Regions from separate parts of the Homo sapiens genome. Here region 1 is linked to region 2. The links are contacts of gene promoters, found by promoter capture Hi-C in blood cells and fetal thymus (Javierre and others, 2016). All regions are on one chromosome and are shown on one strand. The core of a region is centred on a gene start or on the middle of the fragment in contact, and the rest is flanking DNA. Distances in the headings are between cores, read along the strand shown. Region 1 overlaps YES1 (YES proto-oncogene 1, Src family tyrosine kinase). Region 2 holds the start of THOC1 (THO complex subunit 1).

What was found. Contacts are between HindIII fragments. The CHiCAGO score rates a contact against its expected background, and 5 or more counts as called.
Region 1: a fragment that was not itself captured here is called in contact with the fragment with the promoter of THOC1 in region 2 in 1 of 17 cell types (total CD4 T cells); the score reaches 6.4 in total CD4 T cells.

What each region holds. Positions count from the first base shown.
Region 1 is chr18:793,431-798,122 of GRCh38, forward strand. The region is part of intron 1 of YES1 (YES proto-oncogene 1, Src family tyrosine kinase); the gene reads right to left. It also overlaps the pseudogene RNU1-109P. Among named protein-coding and RNA genes, the nearest start is that of YES1, 16 kb to the right of the region's middle. The HindIII fragment of the contact is 4,646 bases long and covers 1-4,088 here.
Region 2 is chr18:265,202-270,437 of GRCh38, forward strand. THOC1 (THO complex subunit 1) reads right to left here and starts at 2,846. Exons shown (of 21, transcript NM_005131.3): 1 at 2,765-2,846; 2 at 256-329; 3 at 102-162. The coding sequence starts at 2,818. RefSeq lists an enhancer at 2,715-3,184 and a silencer at 3,575-3,754. The HindIII fragment of the contact is 5,170 bases long and covers 1,277-5,236 here.

The DNA.
Region 1 (4,692 bases), core at 516-3,015, 530 kb after region 2:
GTCTGAAGCAATCCTCCCATCTCAGCCTCCTGAGTAGCTAGGGCTACAGGCATCTGCCACTACACCCAACTAATTTTTTAATTTTTTGCAGAGATGGGGTCTCACTAAATTGCTCAGGCTGGTCTCAAACTCCTAGGCTCAAGTGATCTTCCCACCTCAGTCTCCCAAAGCACTGGGATTACAGGTGTGAGCCACTGTGTCTGACCTGCATGATCCCTTATACAAAAAAAGTAAGAGAATTAACTGAAAAGCTATCAGACACAGATTTCTATAGAGCAGCTACAAAAATATATTGAGAAATAAGTAGTTTTGTAATATACCAAAAATAGTTATAAAGTAGTACTCAACAAATGATAGGGATCTATCAAAAGTACATAGGAACTAGTTTGAAGAGGCTCTTGCTGACCAAACACAGAATCTGAGCATCAAGAAAAAAAAATGGTGACACTAACAGATTACAACTAGTTGACTAAGATAATCCATAAGTCACTCTGATAAATAAATAAGGACAGGAAGGTTCTCTCTTACAGAATCCCAACTACTAAACTTGGAGTAAGAGAGCTACACATTCAGCACACGTATCCCAGAACAACTCTTACTGCAATAATTAATTCAGCCAAGGAATCATCAATGGAAGCAAAAACTATTACCTTATCTGTAATTTACTAAAAAGAGAAATATGTTCATTTTGTGGTGATGAAACCTGACAGATATCACTTAACTAAGTAATCAAAGTTAATACTGCCAATAGTAGGATAGACTAACACAGCGTGCCTCCTGATGTCTTGTACTCTGAAGAACATAATAGCCTTTAAGTGGTACTCCTGCCTCAAATTCATAATCTAAATCAAATCATGAGGAAACATCAAACAAAAACTCATCGATGTACACTATACAAAACCAGTAGTCTAACTTTTAAAAATATCAATGTCATGAAAGATAAAGCCTGAAGAACTGTTCAGATTAAAGGAGACTAAAGAAACATGACAATTAAATGCAACATGTATTTCTAGATTGGATTTTGGATTTTTGTTATAAAGAATATTATTAGGACAATTGGAAAAATATATGAACTACTGTATTACTTTCCTTGCCACATTTCCTTTATTGTTCCCTCCTAGGGCTGCTGTAGAAAAAAAATGGCTTAAAATAACAAATTTATTATGTCATAGTTCTGGAGGCAGGATGTCCAAAATTCAAGTGTCAGCAGGGCTATGCTCCCCCTGACACTCTGGATACCATCCTTCCTTGCCTCCTCCTAGCTTCTGATGGTAGCTGGCAATCCTTCGTGCTCCTGGCTTACAGGTGCATCCCACCAATTTCTGCCTCTGTTGTCACAAGGCATTCTCTCTGGGTGTCTGTCTTCACATGTGGGTTTTTGGTTTTTGTTTTGTTTTGTTTTTTGAGACGGAGTCTCACTCTGTCGCCCAGGCTGGAGAGCAGTGGTGCAATCTCGGCTCACTGCAACCTTGCCTCCCGGGTTCAAGCAATTCTCCTGCCTCAGCCTCCCAAGTTGCTCGAACTACAGGCGCGTGCCACCATGCCTGGCTAATTTTTGTATTTTTAGTATAGACAAGGTTTCACCCATTAGCCAGGATGGTCTCAATCTACTGATCTCGTGATCCGCCTGCCTTGGCCTCCCAAAGGATGCTATTTCCAAATAAGGCCACATTCACAGGTACTGAGGGTTAGGACCCTTTTGGGGAACATAACTGAATCCGCAACTGCAAATTAGGTAACTGTATTATACTGATGTTGAACTTGTTGAATTCAGTAACTGTACTGCAGTTGTATAAGAAAACGTCCTTGTTTTAGGAAATACATACTGAAATATTTAAGGGTACTGAGACATGCCATTTGCAATTAACTTTCAAATGGTGGTGGTGGGGACACGTATACACACATACCCAAGGAGGGAAACATAAAGGAAATGTGACAAAATGTTAACAACTGGTAAATCTGGGTGGAGGGTATCCAGTTCTTTGTGCTACTCTTGCAACTTTTCTGAACTTTGAAGTTATTTCTAAATAAACTTGCAGCACTATTTACAACAGCAAAGACTTGGAACCAACCCATATCCCCATCAATGATAGACTGGATAAAGAAAATGTGGCACCTATACACCATGGAATACTATGCAGCCATAAAAAAGAAATGAGTTCATGTCCTTTGCAAGGACATGGATGAAGCTGGAAATCATCATCCTCAGCAAACTAACACAGGAACAGAAAACCAAACACCGTATGTTCTCACTTATAAGTGGGAGATGAACAATGAGAACACATGGACACAGGGAGGGGAACATCACACACTGGGGCCTGTTAGGGGGTGGGGGGAAGGGGAGGGAGAGCATTAGGAGAAATACCTAATGCATGCGGGGCTTAAGACTAGATGACGGGTTGATAGGTGAAGCAAAACACCATGGCACATGTGTACCCATGTAACAAACCTGCACGTTCAGCACATGTATCCCAGAACTTAAACACACACACACACACACACACACACACACACATAAGACCTATGAGTAAGTAAAACAAAAGTTCAGAGTCTATATAATAAAACTGGGATATAAAAGACAATCTCAAAAAATAAACACATCACTTATTTTTAGAAGGTACATTACAAAGATGCCCATCCTTCCTACATAAATCTAAGTAACATTAAATCAAAATCACAATGAAGTTCACATGAAAAAGTAAATGCATATGAATAGCTGAGAAAGTTTTGAAAAGGAAAACAGGAAATTTGTCCTTCTAGGAATCACAGCCTCATGGTTAAGGGTATAGGCTCTGGAGTCACAAAGTTAGGTTACAGTCCTAGCGTGTAATTTGAGTAAATTTAACCTCTTGAAGCCTATTTCTTTATCTGTAAAAATAAAGATATCAAGAATACTTAACTGTTGAAGGTTCTGTGAGAAATGAGTTAGCTAAATATGTTAAAGTATTTATACAGGGACTGTCACACAGTCAATTATCAATACACATTAGTTGCTGTTATCATGGTTATAATCAACAGCATCAAGCTATTTGGTATTGGCATAGAAACAAACAATTAGGCCGGGTGCAGTGGCTCACGCTGGTAATCTCAGCACTTTGGGAGACCGAGGCGGGCAGATCACAAGGTCAGGAGCTCAAGACCAGCCTGCCCAACATAGTGAAACCCGTCTCTACTAAAAATACAAAAATTAGCCGGGCGTGGTGGCAGGCATCTGTAGTCTCAGTTGCTGAGGCAGGAGAATCACTTGAACCCGGGAGGTGGAGGTTACAGTGAGCCAAGATGGCACCACTGCACTGGCCTGGGTGACAGAGGAAGACTCTGTCTCATAAAATAAATAAATAAAATAAACAATTAAATCCCTCAAAAGAAAGAGCCCAGAAACAGGCCCAAGAGTAAAAAGAATTTGCAAACACTAAAAGGTGGCATTTTGAACCAGTGTGAAAATAGATTTAATAACTAGCAGTAGTGAGGTATATCATCTGAGGAAAAAAAAATTACCTCACAACATACATAAAATCCAGAGTATAGAGCTAAATGACTTGTAAGACAAAACAAAACAAAAACCTGTAAGTAGAATTTTTAACATCATCTTCAAGTGGAGAAAATATTCTTGAAACACAAAATCCAAAAGTTACAGAAGGAACATTATGCACAGACATGGAAAAGTCTTTGCAACATAAAGACAAAGAAAGAATATCTATAATATATTGAAGAGTCCCTAAAAACCTGTAAGAAAAAGACAAATAACCCAATAGTAAAACTGGTAAAGATTATGAGCAAGCAGTTCACCACAAGGAGAGATGCATAGTAGCCTTCAATTGAAAAAGCAAATTAAAATAATTTTAAGATATCTTTATTCATATATATAACAAAAATAAAACAATGTTCTATCAATCCCCCTAAAAAAACTGGGAAAATATAGAAAGAGCTTTAAACCTGCTAACATCCCTGGCTCTGTTTATCACCAAAAGAAAAAGCAACACCTATCATGCCATTAGAACACTTTATTATGGAAAGAGGAAAAACAAAACCAAAAAAAAACACAGGTAGAAAAGCAATCACTGAACCTTACTGTTAGAAGAAAACTAAGCTTATCAGGTCTGACCACTCACTAACACAAGAAAGTACCACTGACAATGACCTATATGCAGCATTTACTCAAACTCGAGACAAGGTAGTTCAATAAAGCACTTCTAAACAACTGTTAAAAATTACTTCTTTATAATCTTCAAATTGCTTAAAAATGATAAACATCTTTTTAACAAACTTTAAAAATTTTGTCAGGAATCAAAGGCAACTTTCAGTGTCTGCATTTATTAACGTTCACCTTTTAAGACATCATCTAATCATTCTTCTAAGATATCTACCTGTCTCCATGATTTCTCTCTTACTGGTAGGGCCCTGGAAGTATCAGAAATACCTTTCAGAACCTTGAGATATAATTCTTCTAGACCTAGAGACATGAACTCATGTAAAGCTACATGCCTCTATTTTCTTATTATTTATTTGTTTTTAATAATATAAACTTCACACTATGATCTCTTAGGACAAAAAATGACAGGGGAAAGCACGAACACAGTCCCTCACTACTACAAATTCTGCATTTGGGGAAATCACAGGGGTCAGCACAACCAAAGTGCAATGGATGAGCCTCACTCTGAGAACCACCTTCATGATCATGGTATCTCCCCA
Region 2 (5,236 bases), core at 1,596-4,095:
AAAAGATGTTTAAATATCCATTCTAAGAAAAAAAGCAATTTTTAAATAACATGGTTTATTAATTTGTCAGTAAAATTTTAACAATGGAAAAACATACTTACAATTTCTTCTTCTAGAATACCTCTGAAAGCTTGGTCAAGGGTACATTTTTTTTCATTTTCACTATTAAAAACAAAAGACATCCTCATTTTTCAAACAGCTCAGGGTATGTATAAAGATTGAGGCAAGTATTTTTCATAGATATCAATGCCTTACCTGCCAGGTACCTGGCTGAAGGTACTTAACAATGGCTTGATGTTTTTGTTGTTCAAGGCCTCTCTGGTAGACTTCTAAAAAAAAATTAAAATGGCAAATAATTGTAAAGATTTTGCTTATTATTTGCTGAAAAATATATCGTTCATTGATAGTGTATCTTACTAACTAAAAAATGCTTATACCTGGGAAAAATTACCTATCAGTCATTCTCTCAGTAATCCTTATTCCAATGCTACTTCATGATACGGATCCTCATCACTTTAAATCTGGCAAGAGCTTCCTTGCTGGACTTTTTCATTCTAGGTGATATTTCTGTCTCTTTAAATATCACATTCATGAGTATTGTGCTTACAAAAAAAAAAAATCTCCATATGGCTCCTTATTTGCCCGTTTTAGTTTTGAAGCTTCATAGATCCCTCAAGGTCCTTGATAATGTTATCCCAATTTACCCAAACTTAATTCCCAATACTCCCTAACACATACTTTGCACTAAAGTCTAGCCATTTTTCATCACTTTATATCAAACTCATTCTACTGTATTCACACATTCATGTTGCTCTTCCTACCTGCTCATCCAAATTCTATCCATTCTCCCACACCCATGTCAGGTCTCGCCTCCTGGAGGTATCTTGTTCAGTCCCTGACACGTAGCACTCAATAAAACCATGCTGACAATCTGTAGATTGTTTTAAAGTAATCATAACTTAAAGACAAAAATATTGCAAAAGGCATTCATTCTATGAACACTCACATACACTTAGAAAGTCATCTTATTACCTCACAGGAATTAGATCTATCCTAAATGTGTCCATTCCTTGCTCTGCCACTAACAGGCTGAGTAATTTGGGGCCTGTTCCTTTATCTCTTTGTGCTTCATTTTCGTCACCAGTTAAATAAGAGGGTTTTTGTAGATTTTTACTACCAGCAGCAGCTACAGTGGCATCACCTAGGAAGCTGGTAGAAATGCAAAATCTCAGGCTCCCTTCCACACTTACTGAACAAGAATCTGCATTTCACAAGAAGCTTGAGAAACACTGAACTAGATGATCTCCAATTTCATGGTCCTTTTCAGGGCTAGTATGATTTTTTTTTTTTTTTTTGAGATGGAGTCTCCCTCTGTTGCCCAGGTGTTGTGCACTGGCATGATCTTGGCTCACTGCAACCTCCGCTGTCCGGGTTCAAGCGATTCTCCTGCCTCAGCCTCCCAAGTAGATGGGATTACAGCGCCCACCACCACGCCTGGCTAATTTTCGTATTTTTAGTAGAGACGGGGCTTTGCCATGTTGGCCAGGCTGGCCTTGAACTCTTGACCTCAGGTGATCCGCCCGCCTCGGCCTCCCGAAGTACTGCATTTACAGGCGTGAGCCACTGCGCCCGGCCGCCAATATGATCTTGGATAGTCCTAACAGTTACTCTTAGCAGGCTTTCAAAGCACCAGAGATTGCAGCAAAACGCACACAAAGAAAATGATTATGATGACATACACAAAATATAATCCATTTAAAAAAAACCTCACACTGTGTGTGTGTGTATATATATATTATACGTATACGTATATATATGTATATATATATATATATAACCCTGCAAACAAGAAAACTACTTACTACAAAGGATGAATTTTTCTTTCACACAATTTTCATCCTGGCATCCCTATAACTACCAAAACACAGCCGAATATCTGAGAAATGTTGGTGCAAATGCTAGAGACGAATAGAGTCAGGCAACTTAAAAGTGTTCTTCATACTTACGTTGCTGTGACGAGCAACATAAAAAGAACAGAGTGTCTAAAGTCAGAAAAACCACTGAAGTCACAACTTTTTGGGGGGTGTCAGCTTCTACCTCATGTACCAGGAATAACCAACTTAGCCTACTTCACAGTGTTACTCTAATAGTTAAATGAGAAAGTGATCTGTCAAGTGTTTCCCAAATGCTCAAAACCACCCTTCCACATTGAGCAAGAATAAAATAGCATCTGGTTACCCTTCCCAAGGTGATCTATCTGCCTTTTCCCGCTTAGGATCTCATCGATCGCTTAGGAGTTAGACACGGTGGGTTAAGGGGTGGTGAAGAGACGGCGGGAACAAGCACTTGGTAGCTCAGAAGGCTAGGGCGGGAGCCAGGTCTTTGGACTGAAACCACTCCCACCCTCCCCCTTCAGCAGCTCCCCTTCCCCTTCTCGAGACACCTGCCCCACTAAACGAGCTGAGAGGATGGACCCAACCAGCAGTAGTCTGCAGGTGGGCACTCCAAGCGGGGAGCCGAGGCGCCCAGCACGCAGTCCGGGGACCCGCTGGAGGGTGGGCGGAGGCGGACGGCCCAGCCCACAAAGAAGAGGCGGGTAGTGCGTCTTTCCCTACCCCTCAACCTCCGACGGGGCCCGGAGCGGACGCTGAGGCGGACACACCTCTGTCTCACTTTACCCCAGGGCAAAATTCGAGTAATTTCAGGGAGAAGAGGACAAAGCATAGCGCCGGGTCAGGCCTGCACCCTCCCCTCTACAGCTCACCGTAAACCGCGTCCGCGCTTCGGGCAAACTGAAGAGCGGCGGCGTCGGAGACATCTTCTCGGCTGCGCGTGCCCGCCACTGCGCTGCGGCGCCTGCCGATGACGTCAAGCCAGGAGCAACGAGACTGCGGTCTCTCTGAGCCCGGCTAGAGTGGCCTGTGAACACCGGTCGGGCGAGCTGGCAGTTGGGAGTTTCCCTAGCGACTCAGTTCGGGTGGGCGTTGGGCGCCTGAGTCAGCCAAACAGCCTACTCGGGGTTCTTGGGTAGCCTTTGGGGTGAGGGGACTTGGGCGGCCTTGGTCTGTAAGCTCTGCGTTCCCGGGCGTGGAAGAGACTGGCCGCGCACATGCGTTTCTGTGGTTTTCCTGGTTTGGGGAAAGCGGGTAAATGGTGGCTGGTTGCGGCTAACTGGGCCGCGCTAAAAGGTAACCCAAGGCAGGTGGATTACCTGGGGAAACAGCTGGAGCAGTGGTCCTGGGCCGCCAGTCCGCGGTCATCCCGGGAGCTTAAGATGCGGAGTGGTGATAGGCTCCGGATGTATGAGCCCTGTGGCTCAAGGGCGCTGTTCTCTCTGCTCCGAAATAGAAATAATACCTGTCTCACAGAGCTGTTGAAAAGCTCCACTGAAATAATGACCGCAAGTGTGAACTGTAAAGCAATGTAAGTAGTATTTATTATTAAAAGGTCTCTACTGAAAGAAAGAGACCTAGGAGGAATGCAGTGCCCGGCGCTGATTGGAAAACGGGTGGCGCTGCGTCCTGGGCCGAGGCTTCCCTAGCGAAAACCTTGTCTCCCTCCATTTCGTCCCTTGCCTGCCTTCCCAGGAGAGACGTGGCCGATAGAAGCCGAGTGGCAGTAACTCTAAGTTGGAGTTACACGGTGGAGAAGGAAGCACTGACTCAGACTCGGGTAACTTCCTCTTATTCCCTCACACGTGTATCTTGTTCCCTTCTTCGAAGTCTGTAAATTTAAAATCCTAAGCCCCCCAACAACTGAACAGACCCCCGTGAGGCCAAGGGGACACCAGCAAAATCTTAACAACTGAGTTCCCAGTCATAACGGGATGGGAGGTCAGACGGACCTGGTTATACCCTCTCCCTTTTGTGATTTAGAGGAGATAGCTGACTGGCCATAAAGTTAAAATAGAGGCCAGGCGCGGTGGCTTACGCCTGTAATCCCAGCACTTTGGGACGCCGAAGCAGGTGGGTCACCTGAGGTCAGGAGTGGATCACCTGAGGTATGGCAAACATGGTGAAACGCTGTCTCTACTAAAAATACAAAAATTAGCCGGGCGTGGTGGCACGCACCTGTAATCCCAGCTACTCAGGAGGCCGAGGCAGGAGAATGGTTTGAACCCGGCAGGCGGAGGTTGCAGTGAGCGGAGATCGTGCCATTGCACTCCAGCCTGGGCGACAAGAGTGAAACTCTGTTTCAAAAAAAAAAACGGAGATGATAGGACTGACGGAATTGACTCCATGGCAATAAGATACCAAAGTATAAACAGGACCTAAGCCCATGCCAAGCAAGGGTTAAAAGTCATGCATCCCTACGCTTGAAAAATAAACTATGTTCTCACTATGCTTCAAGGTTTTTCTTTAGCAGCTAAACAAGCGCTGGCCTCACAGTATTAAAACAATTTGCAGTTCATCGACCACCAGACACTAACAACCCTCTCCCACCAGCCGTAACTACAGCTTTTATTGATTTCAGTTACTTTCTCCTGATAAGAAGGTCACTGACCATGGACTTGTTCTGGCCAATTTGTAGTGATTGCATGCTTACGTAACTTCCTGAAAAGATATTTTGATGTATAGGACCAAACTGTAAATACATTTAAATGTTAAGTCTCCACCCCAAAGTGAACATGGATTGTCTGTTAAACATGCATATTTGTTTAATATGCATGTGTCAAGACCACTTTCATGAATATTCATAGCCGCTCCTCTAACTTGTTGAATATGTATGTTTAGCCAACCAGTTAAGCATAAAGTTCCTACTCCAACTCCTCCTCTGAAGTGTCTGTATGTGGTCTTGGCTGGAGGCATGCTTCCCAGCCTGCAGAATGGCCACCTTGCAGGCTGTAACTCCTTATAAGAAACAAAGTCTCTCCTTTTCTAAATCTATAGATCTTATGATTTTTTAGTTAACATGCACAATAAGAATACAGGAAGCTAAGGAAAAGATAACTGCAGAATCTTACTCCTAAGTGGGAATTGTGAACAATAATGACTACCTGAAATGTTACAGGCTTTTTAAGAATCAGCAAGATCATTCAGGTTTGGTTGTATACATTAAATTTACAAATTGGCAAAATAAAAATGATTTAATTCAGAATTATACTTTGTTTATCTGATACTAATTGTTGTAATAGGATTATCATATTACAGATGACTATTAACCATCTGGAACACAACTAAGACCTCAGAGGCAAGTACATTTTTTTCTTTTCTTAAGAGACAGGGTCTCATTCTGT